Linked DNA regions of Homo sapiens: regions 1, 2, 3 and 4 are each linked to region 5. Evidence: promoter capture Hi-C in 16 types of primary human blood cells and fetal thymus (Javierre and others, 2016). All regions are on one chromosome and are shown on one strand. The core of a region is centred on a gene start or on the middle of the fragment in contact, and the rest is flanking DNA. Distances in the headings are between cores, read along the strand shown.

Evidence for each region. The method cuts DNA at HindIII sites, captures the fragments that hold promoters and counts their contacts. A CHiCAGO score of 5 or more calls a contact.
Region 1: a contact is called between a fragment that was not itself captured here and the fragment with the promoter of LINC02694 in region 5, in 1 of 17 cell types (M1 macrophages). The highest score is 5.1, in M1 macrophages.
Region 2: a fragment that was not itself captured here is called in contact with the fragment with the promoter of LINC02694 in region 5 in 1 of 17 cell types (naive B cells); the score reaches 6.3 in naive B cells.
Region 3: a fragment that was not itself captured here is called in contact with the fragment with the promoter of LINC02694 in region 5 in 15 of 17 cell types (naive B cells, total B cells, naive CD4 T cells and 12 more); the score reaches 21.7 in naive B cells.
Region 4: a contact is called between a fragment that was not itself captured here and the fragment with the promoter of LINC02694 in region 5, in 1 of 17 cell types (total B cells). The highest score is 7.0, in total B cells.

What each region holds. Positions count from the first base shown.
Region 1 is chr15:38,353,937-38,357,653 of GRCh38, reverse strand. It overlaps SPRED1 (sprouty related EVH1 domain containing 1), which reads right to left. Exons shown (of 7, transcript NM_152594.3): 7 at 405-3,717. Among named protein-coding and RNA genes, the nearest start is that of FAM98B, 98 kb to the left of the region's middle. The HindIII fragment of the contact is 329 bases long and covers 1,119-1,447 here.
Region 2 is chr15:38,395,024-38,398,687 of GRCh38, reverse strand. No RefSeq gene overlaps it. Among named protein-coding and RNA genes, the nearest start is that of FAM98B, 57 kb to the left of the region's middle. The HindIII fragment of the contact is 1,010 bases long and covers 1,883-2,892 here.
Region 3 is chr15:38,427,626-38,431,312 of GRCh38, reverse strand. No RefSeq gene overlaps it. Among named protein-coding and RNA genes, the nearest start is that of FAM98B, 25 kb to the left of the region's middle. The HindIII fragment of the contact is 672 bases long and covers 2,009-2,680 here.
Region 4 is chr15:38,410,454-38,414,520 of GRCh38, reverse strand. No RefSeq gene overlaps it. Among named protein-coding and RNA genes, the nearest start is that of FAM98B, 42 kb to the left of the region's middle. The HindIII fragment of the contact is 819 bases long and covers 1,458-2,276 here.
Region 5 is chr15:38,694,446-38,698,376 of GRCh38, reverse strand. LINC02694 (long intergenic non-protein coding RNA 2694) reads right to left here and starts at 1,779. Exons shown (of 2, transcript NR_160786.1): 1 at 1,638-1,779; 2 at 1-239. RefSeq lists an enhancer at 1,620-1,669. The HindIII fragment of the contact is 8,690 bases long and covers 1-3,931 here.

The DNA.
Region 1 (3,717 bases), core at 34-2,533, 340 kb after region 5:
CCATACTGTGGATCACGTACCACAACTTAGTGAGATAGGGGGCCCAGAAATGGACAAGGGAGAGTAGAAATTAAGAAATTATTCCTTTATAAAACAAAATTACTCCAGCTTAAAATAATAAATAGAATTTCATTTTAACAGAATGATTATTTTATGAAGTGTATCTGTGACTCCTGTAACAGAAAGCTGAAACTGCATCAGGAAGAAAAGCCTATGCTTTGGAGTCAATTTGTTTCAGACCTGGTGCCTCTGTGTTATCTGGTATTTTGACCTTTTGATGCCCAAATCTCTTCCTTAGAAAAATAAGGAAGATAATACTTACAAGGTTACTTGAGGATTAAAAGTAATCATGTATAAAATACATTATGTAACAAAAATAAAGACAAAAGAAACACTATTTCAACTGTGATTTTGTTAAGACTTTTATTATGAATGTATTTTTTGAACCATCATTTCAGATCTCACTAAAACTGCAAATCTTAGAGCAGTTCAATTTAAAGAGTGACTACAGCTTTCATACCATTGATGTCGATGTCTTTTTCTTTAAGGAGCACTATGTGCATGACACTTATATTGATAGCCAAGCTAGAACCCTAGTTTCAATTTCCTTGTTATAAAAGCTATTCTACTTACTTGTGGGTATTAACTTGATGTGAAGAATGTAAAGCAAATTCTGAAAAACCTGTAAATAAGCACATGAGACTACATTTCATAATTAATGGTAAAGATACAGTTACTCCTTGATTTTTCAAATAAACTATAATATAGTAATCCAACTTATTCTAGTGTTGAGATACACTATAATTTTTTATTACTGTCCTAATAACCTTTCCTTTAGATTATTCGTTATTTTTGGTTATATGGCGAGTTAAGTAAAACGATGAAACTGACTTGAATATAAAAAAATCAGTAGTCCTGGGTTAAACAATTGCCACTTAAGGTCATTAGCTTAGCTGCAACATGTTACCAAACCAATAAATATAACATTATTAGCTTAGAGACTTAAAAAAAAATCTGAATACAATTAAGGATGAATAAATATGTTATTAAGATGAACTATATGTGAACTTTCAGTTTAAAAGTATACTTTTAAAGAACAGAGCTAATTATCAAAAGCTTCCATTTTTACTTTCTCCTCCAGTAATTATCTCTTATGTGATAATTTGATAAGCTCTAGGAGAATAAGAAAAAGTCCTTTTATAATTCATGACAGGTTTAATCAGGTAATTCCAGGAGGGAAAAAAACCATTAAAACAAATTCTTATGATAATCATCTGCTATGTCCAATTACACGGGTATGAAGTAACAGAAATGGTTACAAACTTATAATGTATTATTTACATTATATACTCAAAACTATCAAGCTAGTTAACTATATCTGAGGAGACACATTATGACATGAGTTAAACAGTTTTTCATTGTTCATTAGAAAGAATGCAGTCAAGCTTTTAATGGAAATAATATACAAGTGAGGCACTTTTGAGGTCAGAAATAGAAAGCAAACGACACTACACACTGGAAATGTTCACAAAAATCTATGTGTATTTTTAATACAAAGACTTTTCAACTAGTTTATTCTTGAAAAAATTTCAAAACAACTGATGCAATTTAAGAAGCTTTCAGGAATAATGGCTAACATTTATCAGTGTACCAAAGCATATGAATCTTTTATAACCACCTGGCTGCTAGGCAAACAGTACCTAATACCTTAAAGCCTTTTTTTTTCTTTTGGTTTATATAAATCACCTCCGGTTGTGTTTCTCTCTTAAAGAAATTCATTCTTCATGTTTGTCTCATTGCAAAACACCTCATGGTGCTATTATGATTTATAGACTTTTTTAGTGCAACAATAATGCCAGTTTCTAGTGCTTCCTCTTACACTTTGAAGTGTGAACATGGAAGTCAAATCAAGAATGAGCATAATAATTAGTAAAGAATCCTTGCTTTTCAGGTAACTAAAGTTTTCTAAGTTTTATGTGGAAAAAATGTTACACTTGCTTAATGCACCTTTGGGCTACAATTAAAAACCCAATTTAACACATACTTCCAAGTGTAATCACAAAATCGAATGTAAATTTCAACACAAGAAATATCCTTAAGATTCTTTACATTGACCATTTAGAGGAAAGCACATTTCCTGTACTCTGGAGACTCACGTGCATATTAAGAAACATTTCCGTGCCATTTAATTAAGGGGGCAGGGGAGAGGAAAAAGAAAAGAAAAAGCAAGACTTACCCAAGATATCAGATGGCACTATACACATGAATTGAAAGTGCATTTACATTACTTCAAAAGCTCATTTTAGGCACTGCTGAATAACCAATGAAAATAGGTAGTTTCAAGTTTTTCCCTTTAGATTTTAACCCCACCCCATCATCATTTCAGAAACATACACACGGCTGGGCGCAGTAGCTCATGCCTGTAATCCCAGCACTTTGGGAGGCCGAGGTGGGTGGATCACCTAAGGTCAGGAGTTCAAGACCAGCCTGGCCAACATGGTGAAACCCCATCTCTACTAAAATACCAAAACTTAGCTGGGCATGGTGGTGGGTGCCTGTAATCCCAGCTACTTGGGAGGCTGAGGCAGGAGAATCGCTTGAACCCAGGAGGCGGAGGTTGCAGTGAGCTGAGATCGCACCATTGCACTCCAGCCTGGGCAACAAGAGTGAAACTCCGTCTCAAATAAAAGAGAGAAAAACGTACACACACACTCTCTGAAGCTGTCATGATAAAATACAGGTGTGATTATGTTTTTTCATGTTTTGATTATTATTTTTAAAAATTCTCCCTGACTGGCGGAAGGAGGAAAAAAATACCATTTTGGTAATGGCTTTTGAGAGTTAAAGCAACTGGTTCTATAAATGCCTCAGTACATCCATTAAGTTTGATTGCCAGTCCCAAATATCAACAAATATTTTAAAACAGGATATGTAAGAAAAAAGTGCTTAAAATCTTTCAGCAAGCCAACAAGACACATTAGGTAAATAACCATTTTACAATTCCTTTGAGACAGTTCTTATTCCTGGTTTCCCTGGTAGAGGTGGTCACCACATAAATAGCCCTTTAATGGTAGTAGTGATGAACCCTGTCAGATCCCTATTGCCATCTCATGTCTCTGGCCTGGAAATCATCCAGTAGGTGGTGCTGAAGCTCCACACGACATACTTCTTCAGAAATCAAATGATGTCCCTTTTGAAGCCAAGAGAAATATTTAAGAATTATCAATTCTGAACAAGTTCATCAGACCAGTCTTGCTTGTCATGCCGTCTAGATGATTCCATTTTCAATACTATTACTCAAGCAGTTGTCTTGAGCCATCTGCTTATATCAGATAAAAACAAAGAAAAGTTTTAGAGGAAAAGCCAATTGGCAGTGCCGAATCTGTACAGAGAATGAGAAAATGTTCCTGAAGGTGCCTATACACATGTTTAAGAATCAGTGATTTAAACTACCCATTTGCTTTCACAAAGGAATTCTCATTTACTCAAAAGAAAATTTCCATATAGGGATTCAGAGAACATTATATCATCAGTTAGTCTTGTAGACTGATTAAGAAACTGGGTATGTTAACTATAAAGATCCAAGGTAAAATAAAAACCATTTCATCACCATAGTTTTTAATGAAGAAACTTGTTTAAAATTGTAAAGGAAAAAATGGGAATGGGACGGCAAAATCTTAGCAGCAAAGTGGTTAAACAAATTGAAAATATTAATGC
Region 2 (3,664 bases), core at 1,138-3,637, 300 kb after region 5:
GGGCCAAGCCTGTAAATCGTTATTCTCACCTTTTGACTACATGCCTGGAAAGTCAAGGTATAAACCAAAGGGACATGACAGCTGATCAGGGGAAAGCTTTTGGTGAAAATATTAGAATTTGGATTTTTGCCATTGGAGAAGTTCAAGGGCTGACTGATCAGAGGATCTCTGAGCCATTCTCTGTCATCTAGCCAGGATAATACCTCAGCTCTCCCACAGAGTTCCATCTTGAATACCATATCCAGAGAGATAAACCACAACCTTGATTTGATTCTTAGCCACTGCCTGACCAAACAGGAAGCTTATCCTAGTGTCTACAGAATCCAAGCTGTCTGTGGAAGGTTAAGTCTGGCCAGCACACAATGAGTCAGCCGCCATTACCCAGAGGAGTGAGCTAGGGCAACCACTTTGGACAATATGTTGTTTTGGAAGTGAGGATTTCTTTTAAAACATTGGAGCCTGGGAACATGGTGTGCTTTATATAAAGTACAAAATAAATAAAAGATTTCAAGGAATTCCTCTCCCACATGACCAATTCGAAAACCCAAGCAGATAAACCCAAGCACTAAATGGATTCAGTGAGCACTCATTTACTCCAAATTTAAAAATATAATACACATGAAACTATTTTAGAAGTTTTTTTCCCCTAAAAAGGGAAGTCACTGAAATAGAGACAACTGGCCACAATAATTTGGTTTTTACCCAGTGTGGGCTTCCAAATTACATCAAAAAAAGGCACCAGAAGGGATTCAACTTTTTTTTGTAGGAGGAGGGGAGAACATGGGTTTGATGTCATGTTAGGAAGTAAGGTCAGCCCCATCCAAAAATAATTAATAACAGTTTACAGTTAGTGAGTAAATTGTCTAAGAGTGCCCTGTTTTTAATTTGGGGGAAGGGACACTCAATACCACATTGCTTCTTGTTTGCTATTATAATGTTTATTTGCAGCTGATATTAATTGTTTTCCACTGACATCCACTTTTTTCTCTTTCCATGGTAATAAAATGCATGATTTCTAACGGACCCTGTGGTTGCTCAGAATAAAGATATTTCGTATCACCTTTGCAGCTAGGTGTGGTCATATGGCTAATTCTGCTAATGCAGAGAGAAAGCGGCACGTGCAACTTATGAGCGCTTCCCTGAAAGGCACAGGCATGCTCTTTGTTTTTCCATTCTTCCTTTCTGTTAGTTGGAATTCAGATAACAATGAGTGATGTTCTAGCCATCAGTCTGGGCCAAGGGGTCCTTGAGAAGGGAATCAGCATGGTGAAGCCACACAGTGGAAGTAGCCTAGGTCTCTGACCCTCTGCAGTGCCCAGATTGTCCTGGACTGACAAACTCGACTTCTCAGGAACATGAGAGGAATAAACATCCATCCTGCTTAAGCCATTGTTATTTTAGGTTTCTTTGTTGCTTACAGCCAAAGCTAATCCTAATCAACAAGCTATTTTAAAAGTGTTGTTTGATTGAGAGAGCAAAGTCTAAATTCTCAAGTAACTATAACCTAAACCTGGATGTTAAGATGCCATGGTCCTATCAACAATCTTTTTCCTCATTTAGCCATTTGACACTGGCTCTTGAGACACAGAAGAAACCAAGAAGCTTTTGAGAAAGGACAGCCGAGAGCACAGAGGTTCCCAGCCCAAAGAGTGACACACATGCAGGCTAGACTCTGTGTTTTCATGGTAAAAATGATATGGCATTCGTGATCTTTTTCAGGGAAAATTCTGGCTTAAAAAAAAAAAGGCTCCAGCACTGGAGCTTGGCATCTCATCACTCAGGATTCATTTCTTTAGGTTAAGTAAATGTATGTTTTCGCCCTTTAAAATGCAAACTCATAGAGAGGCAAGACAGCAAGTCTCTTACACATTAGTATAAAGCTTCTTCTGTTTCATTCTGATTATAGAAAAGTCTTTAAAAGATAAAAGATATGTGTATTGAGGGGAGAGATGGGGAAAGTATAGAAATTGAGGATTCTAAAGAAGGAGAGAAAAGATAATTAAAAGACCATCTTCAAATATTTTATGATTATGCCAAGGACTGTCAATGCAAACAATGTCCAGAACCTTTACTCGGTGGAGTGATTGAAACCATAATGTAAAGAAATGTCAAGACAATTCCTTGGAATATGAACAACATGATCTTACCACCAACCTAGCTCGAAAAATGTAAAGAGTTTAAAAATCAGAATATACGGAGAAGGGTGAACACAGAGAAGTATCAGCAGTTTGCCCGGCATTATTGAAAACAAATAATACACTTGGAAGTTTCAATATTCGATAGGCAATAGCCATTGGGCAAATTAATCAGTTGCATTTTGCAACCCCTAATAAAATAATAAATCCAGGCAATAATAATCAATGACTTGCTAAAACCATTAGTTAAAAGAGGATGGGATGTCAGGTGCAGTGGCTCACGCCTGTAATCCTGGTGCTTTGGAGGCTGAAACCGGAGAAGCAGCTTGAGGCCAGGAGTTGGAGACCAGCCTGGGAAACATAGTGAGATCCCATCTCTTAAAAAAAACTGTTTTTTTATTTAGCCAAGCATGATGGTATATACCTATAGTCTTTGCTACTTGAGAGGCTGAAGTGGGAGGACTGCTTGAGCTCAGGAGCTCGAGGCTGCCGTGAGCTATGATCACACCATTGCATTCCAGCCTGGGTAAAACAGCAAGACCACATCTCTAAAAAAATAAAGTAAAATGAAAGAGGATGGGGGACTGTATAATGAGCAGGTCAAGCTGACAATATCTGAACTCACCAATCAATCTTAACATCACAAAATGAGAGACAATCAGACAGTGTGTGCCTCCTGATAGAAAGCAGTAGGAATTATATGGCACTACCTATGGAATCATCTTGCCAAAATATGGAATCTGAATCTGATCAAGCTTTCCAAGAAACAGAGAAACATGCTAAATGCTATCTTGGAAATTCAATCAGCAAAATCCAGAATGTGAGAAATTGTACAGACAAATGAATGACAATGAAAAAAGACAATAAGAAGAGGAGTGTTTAATTTAAAAAATGCTTAAGAGACTTATCAGATGAAACTTGTGATCCTTGTTTAAATTCCCTAATCAATCAAACCGACAAACAAAAACCAATTGTAAAATGACATTTATGAGACCAAAAAACAATCTGAACATTGACTACAAATTTGATGATATATTAAATTGTTGTCATTTCTTTAGTTTCAATAATAATATTGTGATCTTGGATTAGGCAAACAGTTTCTTAAATATGACACCAAAAACACAGCAACAAATAAAACATACAAATTGGACTTTATCAACATTTAAAACTTCTGTGCATCAAAGGACACTATCATGAAAGTAAAAAGAAAATCCACAGAACAGGAGAAAATATTTTCAAATCATATATCTGATAGGGTTGAGTATCCAAAATATATCTTAAAAACTCATAGATGCAACAATAAAGAGACAGCCCAATTTAAAAATGGGAAAAGGACTTGAGTAGACAATTTCCAAAAAATATCTATATTAATAACCAGTAGGACATGAAAAGATGTTCAACATCATTAGTCATTAGGGAAATGCAAATCAAAACAACAAAGGGATACTTCACACCCACTAGAATGGGTATAATAAAAAAGACAAATAACATGTTACCAAGGATGTGGAGAAATCAGGACCACACACATT
Region 3 (3,687 bases), core at 1,095-3,594, 270 kb after region 5:
CTAGCCTCCACCCCAAAACTCAAACAAAAATGCATTGCAGTGGCTCACAATGGAAGCCATGCCATTACACTCATATCCTCAGGTTCCACATCTGGGGATTCAACCAACCTCAGATTGAACACATTAGAAAAAAAAATTCACAATATCACAATAAAAATACAGTATAACAACTATTTACACAGCATTTACATTGTATTAGGTATCATAAGTAATCTAGAGATAATTTTAAGTATTTGGCATCCAAGGTGGGGTGAGGTAGGTGACATAGAACAAATTCCTCACATACCGAAGGACGACTGTACTCAGATTGCCCTACAGGACAAAACTTCTATTTTTCAATCCCCAGTTAAAGTTACTATGGATTGAACTCAACCCTTTCACAGAATACTTTTCTCAGTAAATTTCAGCTTTAGTTGAATCCAATTAAGTTGAATTGAGTTTACTCCAAATGTAAAATTACTGAAAATACGTATGGTATGTCTTGAGAGCAAGAAATGAGTTCCAGAAAGAATCCCTGAATGTATACCACTACATAAATACATGATAGATATCACTGGATACATATAAAGACAGAGAGAGAGAAAGGGAAAAGGAAAGAGAGAAAGAGACAGGGGGAGGAATCATTATTTGTGACAGTTTTAAAACATGTTCATAAATTCTTTGGCACTTCCTCCATGGACAGGTAGGGCCCATGTACCTTCCCCTCAAATGTGGGAAGGCATGTGACTGGTAGCCCACTAGAGCACAGTGGAAGTGATGCTGTACTGCAGGCTAAGTATCAAAGGCAACACTCTTCCCAAGTGGTCCTTTTGAGACACTGGCCTTTGGTGCTCTGATCTGCCATGTAAGAAAATTCTGAGGCCATGATACTAGCGGGAAGTACAATCCCCCTGAATGGGTCCTAGGTAGGTGTTCTGGCCTACAGCTACAACTGATGTCCCAGCACACAGCAAGCATCGACTGCCAGACATGTGAAAGACAAAACCTCCAGCTGACATTTGCTCCCAGCCATCATCACTCCCAGTGTTTGTGTCATTGTCAGCTGAGGTCCCAGATATACCAAAAGGAGATAAGCCATCCCCACTGTATCCTTTCTGAATTCTTGACCCAAAGAATCCACGAGGTTGGTGAAATAGTTATTTGAAGTTGGCAAATAGGTTTGTTAAGCAGCACAGATAACATGAACTTAATGGTATAGAAATAAGCTTCTAAAGAGAAGAAATTCAAACAGATAAGTTTACATTGGGCTACAAGCAGTCACTATCTTGATCTGTCATATTTCCATTTCCATCTTATCTTTAAATTTTTTTTTTGAGATAAGGTCTTGCTCTACCACCCAGGCTGTGTGTGTGTGCATACATATTCAATGGCGGAGAGCAGGGTGCATTTCACAGTACCTACCATGCCATGCTTTAATGTAGAAGAATTACCATTCAAACCCACATCATGGCTCACTGCAGCCTCAACGTCCCAGGCTCATGTGATCCTCCCACCTCAGCCTCCTGATTAGTTGGGAGTACAGGCACACACACCACATCTGGCTAATTTTTGTATGTTTTTGTAGAAATGAGGTCTCACCATGTTGCTCAGGCTGGTCTTGAACTCATGGGCCCGAGTGATCTTCCTGCCTCAGCCTCCCAAAGTGTTGGGATTACAGACATGATCCACTGTGCCCAGCCTCCATTTTACCTTTAATACCTATTTTTTCCACATTCCTATTTATATTAGTTTTGTGTTGAAAATTAATTATGTAGAGTCAGAACTCTTTCAGGACTAATGCAATGTTTGTTTTTGTGTGATGCTAGATATTAAAAGGAGGATGTCCCTGGTGACACAATGTCAAAATTATTCTGATCCATTTGGAACATTTCCAGTGAAAATGAACAGGCGCTGCTTAAGGAAGTCAAGGACACAGGAAAAAAATATGATCAGAAAACATCCTCTAGGGACTAATTTAGGGTAAAAGCAATATATAGCAGCTCATTTCTCCTCTTTCCCTGTTAAAGCTTAATTAGCCAAAGACCACTGGGCACAATGTATAATCTGACAAAATCAGATGTATTGATTTTCAGTGAGGGAGCACATGGCAGAAGCACTGTGGCAGACCACTCAACAAGAAGGAGCAGGAAACGTCTTCTGTACAGTGTGTGTTTCACTGAAGGATTTTGAGCAGGATCCAGGAACTGAACATCGGTTCTGGATTGGAGGCTGCTTCTGAAGTAGGATTAGGAAAGTGGGGATTAACTAGGGATTAGGATTGCCACGGGGTGTCCCCTGTAATACATGGATGTAGCAGAATAGTTCCAGGGACATCATCAATAAGAAAGCAGTGGTCACTCATAGAGCAGGTCTCTATGGTATTGGAAAGAGATGCTCTCTGTTCTCTGGGATCTCCCATTGTAAGGACTTGAACTTGGAGTTATTCCATCATCGCGTGGAAAGAATTTGCCTGAGAATTAAATCAACATGGATTAAAGCAGAGCTGGGGCACACTGGAACCCCTCAATCTAGCTCTGCCTAAAAAATCCATCTCTTGAATTGCCCATCACAGAGGCTAATACGCTCCTGTTTTTTAAAGCTACTTTGTTCAAGCTACTTTTAGGAGTTACTCTTGACTAATACAAGCCTGATAACGTTTTCTGAGGTTAAGATGCTCTCACCTGAACTCCAAAGATAAGCTTGTGTGTGTGTGTGTGTGTGTGTGTGTGTGTTTGTATGTGTGTGTGTGTGTGTGTGTGCATACATATTCAATGGGGGAGAGCAGGGTGCATTTCACAGTACCTACTATGCCATGCTTTGATGTAGAAGAATTACCATTCAAACCCCCATACTCTTGACATTTATATGAGGTTATATTTCTAAGTAACTAATAAATAACATCTAATATTCAATAAATTGACTTCTGTTTGTTGAATGCATATTTTGTACAAGGTGCTGAACTATATACCCTGAGGGGAAAATAAATAATAATCCAATATCATCCTGTTTTCAAAGCTATAGTTACTAGTTATAGTCAAGGCCAAAAGTAACATAGGCAGTCAGTCTTAATAGCACCTCAGAGGCAGGAGAGGCCATTACAGACCAGCAGCAGTGGAGAAAACTCTTCCACCAAGGCACAGGAAGGGAGTGGGGCTTTGACTGAAGAGTAAAATTTCAACCTGGGTGAGAAAGAAGACATTCCAGAAAGGGGTTAAGGTAAGGAAGTTGAAAACAATTATGGAAAGAGTAACCAGGACAGCTCGGGCCAGGAGAAGACCTCCAAAAGGGAGAGGAATGGAATATAAGTTTGGAAATGTAGATTGAGACCAGTCTTGAAACACCAGACCTCCAGATTTCTATTTTATCTGGTAGGAACTAAAGTGCCAATGCAGATTTCTGATTAGAGGAATATCAAGACAAAAAGAGGTTTTTAGTCAGGCATGGTGGCTTGTGGTTGTAATTCCAGCTACTCAGGTACTCAGGAGGCTGAGGTGGGAGGATTGCTTGAGGCCAGAAGTTTGTGACCAGCCTGGGTTATATAGCTAGAGCCAGTCTCAAAAGAGATGAAGAGAGAGAGAGACGAGAGAGAGAGATTTTCAGGAAAATATATTTGGCAATTCAATGTTTCTGACTGGAGAAGAGAATGGAGAATGCTGGATCCTGCTGCTATTCTTTACACAAAAGGTGACAGAAGTGTGAGTGAGCCTC
Region 4 (4,067 bases), core at 618-3,117, 280 kb after region 5:
GCTTTGGACACACTAGAGAAAGCCACATGGATGCTTCCTGTGGCTTTAATTTTGTTCTTTAAAACTCTTAACCATGGAATTCTGCCTCTTCTCCCAAATAGCCACTAACAGGAGAGCACCTAGTGCTACAATGGTACATTAAGAATAATCATTAGAAACAAAAGGATATTAAATGAAACTAACTGAGGTCCCCAAGAAGAGTCAGGAAATTTAGGAAATCTACACATACATATCTCAATCTATCCTTTTAATTCTGTTATAAATTTTATCATGGACACAAAATAAGGGATAAATGAGGCTGAAAACTATTCTGTACAACATTAGGAAGTGAACATGCCTTAGCAGGGAAAGGAGATCAGCAACGTGGGGCGGATTCACAGCCCAGCTCTGCTTCCCCACCATTAAAAGGCTTCAACACAGCCAACTGTATGCTATGGACTCGGGCAGGGAATGTTTCAGAAGTGAGAGGAATTTAGGCTAGTTGTGTGTCTCTCAGTCCAAGGAGACCTGTATAGAACTAGCATTCAGAATAGAACAGTCAATACACAATGAGCCCAACTTTCTGGAAATTCCAAATATGAGATGGGAACCTATAAAACAACACGATACAGAGCTCTATTCACATTACACAAGTGTTAACAATACAAAAGCACTCTCCCTTTTTTCTCATAATTCTTTTTTTTTTTAAGTTAGATTCAGGGGGTACAAGTGAATATTTGCTACATGGGTATATTGTGGAATGGTGGGCATTGGGCTTCTGGTATACCTGTCACCCAACTATTGAACGTTTTATCCAATATATCCAGTAGGTAATCTTTCAACCCTCTCCCTCTCCTTCCTTTCCCATTTTTGGAGTCCCCAGTGTGTATTATTTCCTTCTTATGTCCATTGTTATAAATGAGAACAATGTGATATTTAATTTTCTGCTTCTGAGTTAGTTCACTTAGGATAATGGCCTCCAGCTCTATCCATGTTTCTGCAAAGAAGATGATTTCATCCTTTTTTTAAAGGCTATGTAGTATTCCATGGTGTATATACACCACATTTTTTTAACCCGGTCAACCATTGATGGGCACTTAGTTCCATGGCTTTGCTATTGTGAATGGCACTACCACTTTTTTAAAGGATGCATTTATCACAGGATTTCATTTGAAAGAAATCCTGCTAGTGCATTTAAAATAGGTGAAATTACCAAAATTTTAAAAACATAATTTTTCGGTAATATGTTTATGGCCTCATGACATTCTAAAAACAGAGGTAAAAAGTATATTTCTAAGAAATGAATACCATTATCATTAATTTTTTTCTAAAGTTAGCTTTCTGTGTTATATGATTCTCTCCTAATAGTCATGTGAAAATATCAGATGTAAGACATTTCCATTTAAAGTTGGGCGTTGCAGGAGCAAAATACCAATCAATTATAAAGGAAAATATGATGGACACATCAAAGTCAAGCTTACAAGCAATGGGGAAAATATCTGCTCAAATTATTTTCACTTTTGTTTCTAAATATTTAATTTTTCAACAATTTAACTATTTAAATTCAAAGTTTCCAACTATATTGCTAAACTAGAAATTGCTGAGATCTTCAAAAATATTTATCAAGAAAAAAACTGACATGAACCCTACACTAATTAAAGCTATAGATATATATTTTGGGGGGAGTGTTCAAGTCCCAGGTTAATCACCTGTGCTTTAGACTGGAGGCAACATGAACTCTAAGACAAGATGGAATATGTGGAAGTGGAAAGGACCACCGATACAAAAATAACATCTGCTCCAACCCCTAGGCAATCAGAGTGTCAAGCCTAAAATGCCTTTGGCAGTACATCTGCAGTATTTAAGTCTCGCGCTGAAATGACCTAGAGGTGCAGTTTCACATAGCCCTGGGGAAGGCTGACATCCAGCAGAGGGGTCTGTGGTGAATGGTGAGGGTCAAGTTGAGCAGCTGGGGTCTGCTATGAATGGTGAGGGTCAAGCTGAGCAGCTGGACCTCACTCCCTTGCCTCCAATCCAAGTCAGGTTTATCTGTTTATGTATTGGGCCTCTCAGTGTGATTTTATTTGAAGGAAAGTTTTTTTCTGCTAAAAAAATACAAATTAGGAGAATTTGAAAGTGCCGAATAGGTTATCTCTGGGTGATTTTTATCTTTCGGATCATCCATGGTTTATTTTTCTATTTTTGCTTTCTATATCTTTCATATTTTCAACAATAAAAATGTATTGCTTGTGTAATTAAAACACATGCAAAGTTACATTAAAATAAAATAATAAGCTTTGCCTACTTCTCCAAAAAAAAGTGCTGAAAACAGGCTTTCTGCTGGGATTGTAGAATTTTGAATGTGCGTTGCAGTTTTCAAACATAAAGCACAGCTGTTTTGTCTCTTACCCTGAAGCTGTGAAAAAGGGGAAAGATTTTTGAAAGCAGGAACAGGAAAAGACTGTTGAGAAAAGTGGCTGCTATTTCTAGGCTAAAGTCTCCCTGACAACACTGTTCTTACAAGTAATGCCTTCTTACGTGGTCTTAGCGGGATTGATGAGTGATGAATCCAGAGGTTCTGTGGGACCCAAAGTCAGCAGAGACCAGAAGAAGTTTGAGACAAAGAGAAGAATGATAGCAGGCTGGAGAGATGTAACAGACAATTTACTGCAGTCAGTGGTGTCTAATGGACAGTGTAGCTAAGTGGCCCACAGAGATCTGCAAGAAGATAGGACCAAAGAGGTCACTAGGTTTGCAGCCTTGCAGGTCAGGATGAGGTTCCTGAGATACGAGAGGGTCCAAGACCTCAGGGATTGAGGCTGAAGAAAAAGTGCAGCTTTGAGGAACTGCTACAAAGAGCAAAAGGTGAGCATAATCAGCAATTGGCTGGCACAGAAAAACTGCAGACTGATTAAAAATGAGTACTGGACATTGGGGGTTAGAGATGATTTAGAGGTGCAATGCTCTAAAGTAAAAAAAACCTAATTGTAATTTAGTTTTAAACGTGTAATTTAAAAACAAAGCACAATAGATAAAAAGAATGGGCATAGCTTTTGTGGCTAGATCCCTGAGCAGTGTTCCCCACTCAATGGATCAGGCAATTCTGGAATGCATGAATTTAAAGAAACAGAAATACATTACGGATGTAAATAACAAAAACAAAGAATTCGCAAGACAGGCACAAAAGCATACACATTAGAAACAGGACTTAAGCCCGTGCAGAGAGAACCTGCATAGGTGTCACAATCAGCATATATCTAAAGCAATGGTTCTCAAAGTGTGGTCCCCAAACCAGCATCACCAGCATCACCTGGGAGCTTGCTGGAAATGCACATTCCCAGGCTGTGCTTCAGACCTACTGGATCATAAACTCTAGGTTGTGAGGCCTAGGAATCTGTTTTAAAAAGGCTGCCAGGTTATTTTTATGCATGTTAAATTTCAAGATTTGCTGATCCAAAAATATTAAAATCACCAGAAAAAGCTACCTATCAAACATAGTGAACACAAGAATGAACATCGAAAGAAGACGATGCCAAATGAAGCCAATCAAGGACTGAGATTCAACCTTAAACCATCCATAGCTAGAATTCTTCCCAATCTCCCACCCTAGTTCAAGTCTATATTGCTTCTTGCCTGGGCTACTTCCATAATAGCTGGGATGGCCATCTGTCCTGGTTTGCCTGGGGAAGTCCTGGTTTGAATCTGTTGTCCTGGTGTAATAATAAAAGGTCCCCATTATACTCTCAAAATTGTCCAGGTTTAGAGTATAATTGTATGGCTCCCCTAGCAATAGCCTCCTCACCATTTCCCCTGCTTCTGCTTTTGCCCATCTCCAATATGGTATCTTCACAGAAGCTAAGAATGTAAATTGTTGATGTTACTCCTCTCCTTCAAAGCCCTTCCATGACTTTTCGTTCCTCTGAGACAGAACTTTGACCCTTTGCAATGGCCCTCAGTGCTTATCTTCCCATCTTCTCCTTGTTCCATGTTCCTTCTTGCTTTCTTCATTCTCAGTAAAGTGGCCTCCTGTCAGTACCTTGAGAATCCATGTTCATCTGACCTCAAGACCTCTGCACATGCTGAGGACA
Region 5 (3,931 bases), core at 530-3,029:
GGGCTGGAAGCCACTTCTGGGCTTCTCTTGGAGTCAAACTTTGTAATGCAGGAGATCCATGCATTTCCTTGGACCCAGCATTGTCTGAAGACATGAGCTGGAGCTTGTATCAACTTGCCAGCCCCAAAAGGACTCTTGGAGAAGAGAAGGGAAGCATCTTCTCCCAGATTCCAATCCCTGAGCTCTTGTTGGTGGCCCTGGGTTAGATGTTCACTTGCTCTGAGCCTCAGCTTTCCTCCCTGTAAAATGGGGATAACATTACCTAATTCATATAGTTGTTAGAATTAAATGAAATAAAATTCATCAAGTTTCTTGTACAGAATAGATGACTAATGAATGGGATGGGTCTGGAGCACCTGCCTGGGATGGAGCCACTGACTGACTATGAAGGAGCAGAGAGTTCTACGTGCTTCCTAAAAACGCCAGCTTCTAGCAACACCTATGCCAGGGGACATCAGCAAAAAAGTAAACCCAGGGGTGCCAAGAAGCACTTGAGACCAGAGTAAGGATGCCCTCCCCGTCACTGGCACACAGCTAACCATGGAAAAGGACTTCTCTATGACTGCCAGCCACCAAGGAAATTAGGGACACCAGAGGCAAGAAAATTATGTTCAGTTACAAAATACATTCCATTTTATAGCCATTTCTATTATCGGTTGCTACTATAATAAATTACCAAAACTTTAGCAGCTTAAAACACACACTATCATTTAGTTCTATGGGCCAGAAGTCCTATGGGTCTCATAGGACTAAAATCAACGTCTCGGCAGGACAGCGTTCCTTGGTGGCAGCTCTGGGGGTGCATCACTATCTTTGCTCATTCTGGTCTTGACAGTTCCGTGGGACTGTAAGACTGAGGTCCTTGCTGGTTGCTAACTGGGGCCACCCTGAACTCCTAGAAGACATTTGCTCTGTCCTTACATAGAGTCCCTACCTCTCAGAACCAGCCACAGGGCATGGAATCCTTCTCTCATGGCCCTCTCTTTGACTCCAATTCCCCTAGCTGCATTTCTGTCTCTGACTGCACCCAGGGAAGCCTGTCTGCTTTTTAGGATTAGATTAGGCCCATTCGGATAATCCAGGATAATCTCTTTATCTCAAGATCCTTAATGTTAACCACACTTGCAAAATCCTGTTTGCTATTAAGATAACATATTTACAGTTTCTAGGAATGAGAATGTAAACATCTTTGGGTTGGGGGAGTGGGCATCTTTCTGTCTATCAAACTATTCACCAGGCATTTATTTACTATCTTAATGGCCAAGTACAGTGCTATGTGCTGAATTGATGTTGGTATAAGGGGCATGGGGCAGGGGAGAAAGTCTAGGATGGGTGATGCCCCCCACTGGGATATCTGACTTAGAGCTTTGCAGTACTCCAGGGGATGCTGTTGACATAAAATACAATGTAGATTGTAACTCTCACCTCTCACTCCCTTAACCCTCTTGACTCCCCAGTCCTTGCCCCTGACTTATACAGGCTGGAGGTGTCTGAATAAGGTCATTCCAGTTCTCTGGGAGGCAGGAGCTAAGCTCACCAGGGGACTGAGATCCAGGTTCAGCCATAGCAGAAACTGAGAACCCTGCTAGATCCAGGTTCAGCCATAGCAGAAAAAAACAGAGCAAGGTGGGACTTACAGCCATCCAAACAGACGCCTGGAGACAGATGCTGCTCCTGCCCTTAGCCTTGCTTCCTGGCCTGGTTTCATGGTTCCTCCGGGGACTAGAGAGGGAAATGCCCAGGTCCTCTTGGGCCCCTTGTAGCTCCATATCAGAACAGAAAACCTGTCACTAACTGAAGTCCCTTCCGGCTGAGGTACCCCGGCCTATATTTTGCAGCTCCAGGGCTCATCAGAGCCACCAATTTGCTGATGGGTTCTCAACCACAAGGATGGTGAGTCAGCACAGTGGTTGACTCTCAGCAGAGAGGATGCAGCCTTCAGCAGAGCTCCTGGTGGGGCAGCCTCCTGATCAGCCTGTGCTGTGGTCCTGCCCCTGCATTTCTTCCAGTCCTGGACGTCCCTGGCCTGGCTGGCACCCTAGTCGCACACCCAAGAAGCAGTTCAGCTTGCTGAGCACAGTGTTTCCCAAAACTGTGGCATAAGAGGTGAAGGATAGACCAGGGAGGAAGTCTTCAGCCCAGTCTGACAAACACAGGCCAACGTTTGGCCAACAGCAACTCAGGCTCTTTGCTCTAGGCCAAACTTGAAACATTAGTGTGCTGGTAGGTGTTCTGCCTTCCCTCCCTCTGCTCTAGAATTCAGATCTGGAAGCCAGGTCCTGACAGCTGGGATCCAGATGCAGTCCCCATCACAGCATCACATTCTGGCCAACCAGGCTTCCAGTGGCAGGAGCTGCCACCAGGAATGGGCACCAGTCCTCTCTCAGTTAAAAAGCCTTTGCTTCACACCACAAAACCCAAAGTGCCAGCTGTGGTGACAACCACTGCTCCTACCACTTAAAATTTGCTGGCAAGGGAGACTTTTAGAGAATGATTCCCCCACAAATATAGCATTCCTTTTTTTAATCTTTCCTGTACCCCTCTTAGGGCTAAGTTACTGATGATAGCCCTGCGTGATACAGAGCAAGCTGGCAGCAAGGAGGAAAATTGTCAGCAGTGACAAGCTCCAGATGACAGTTATGTGGCTTGGAAGGCAAGTCTTACTCTAAAGAGATCCTGCCCCCATCCCAGCTCTGGATTACTTGGTCTGATAGGTTTTACAGGGTATGACCCCAGTTTTCTGTTTAAGGACATTGGCCTCCAGATATGACTAGGAGGGAGTTTTCCTCTAATATCTTTCCGCAAAGATCACCATGACAATGACCAGAATAATAAATATCTATAATCACATGCAATCTTTAGCTTTAGTAATAGAGTGTGACAGAGAACTCTGCTGCTGCTGCTGCTGCTGCTGCTGCTGCTGCTGATAGTGATGGCGATGATAAGGAAGACACAAGATAATCTGACCTTCCTCAGCCTCTGATGGCTGATTACAGGTAGATGTGGCTTCTGAAGCAAAGTTACATAATTCACCTCTTGTTCCTGATCCACTTTTAGCAAAACTTCCGTGGAAAGGACCTTGTACCTTCTTGAAGTATCCAACATGCTGTCATCTTTATGTTTTCCTACCAAGTTCCCACATTTCTGCCTCAGTGGGTTCTACAGTCTGAACCCCAGAAACAATTTCATAGTTCAAACATCTGGCATGCTATTACATCAAAGGGATTGCAGATTCCCAACCTGGAATGGAAGAATCCTTGACTCCCCGCACCCGCCCCCCAATTCTGCTCTACCTCAAAACTGCCTACATCATCTCAACCACCCAAGTTTTGGGAAACGGGTGAATTCCCTCTTCCTTTTCATTGAGACTAGCCCAGGTCATAGACCCAATCTCTTTACTGGGGACTTAGGCTAATAATTTCGAGTACACAAAATCAATAGCAAAAATAAAGTCCCACGTTGCAGAACATCCTCAACTGAGGAGAGAGCTCATTGGTTGAGAGTGTTTGTAGTATCATGCACTGCCCAGGAATGCAGAGAACACGTAGTTCTGTTAGCTCTTATTGATTGAGAGTGGAAGACAGCTCTTGGAATGTAGGGAAAAACTTCTACGGATGTCATGGAAATAAAGATTCATGTTTTTTAAATAATGGAATCACAATGAATCAGACCAGAGTGACATTAAACTGGATGTCCCTGTCCTTAAAGTTGAAGGTGAGATCCTTTCAGGCAAGCAGGCAATGCTGTCACTGGGAGACTCTCATGAGTTCTGGGAAGACAAGGCTCCCAGTATAGAACATCTGGTAACTTCCCAACTGTTACACTATCTTTTAGGAACCATTAACATAAGTGTCCAGTCATGTCCTGGAATTGGCCTAAGTTCCATGTGTGCTCTTAAAATGAACTTGGACCCTACTCTACTCCAGCCCAC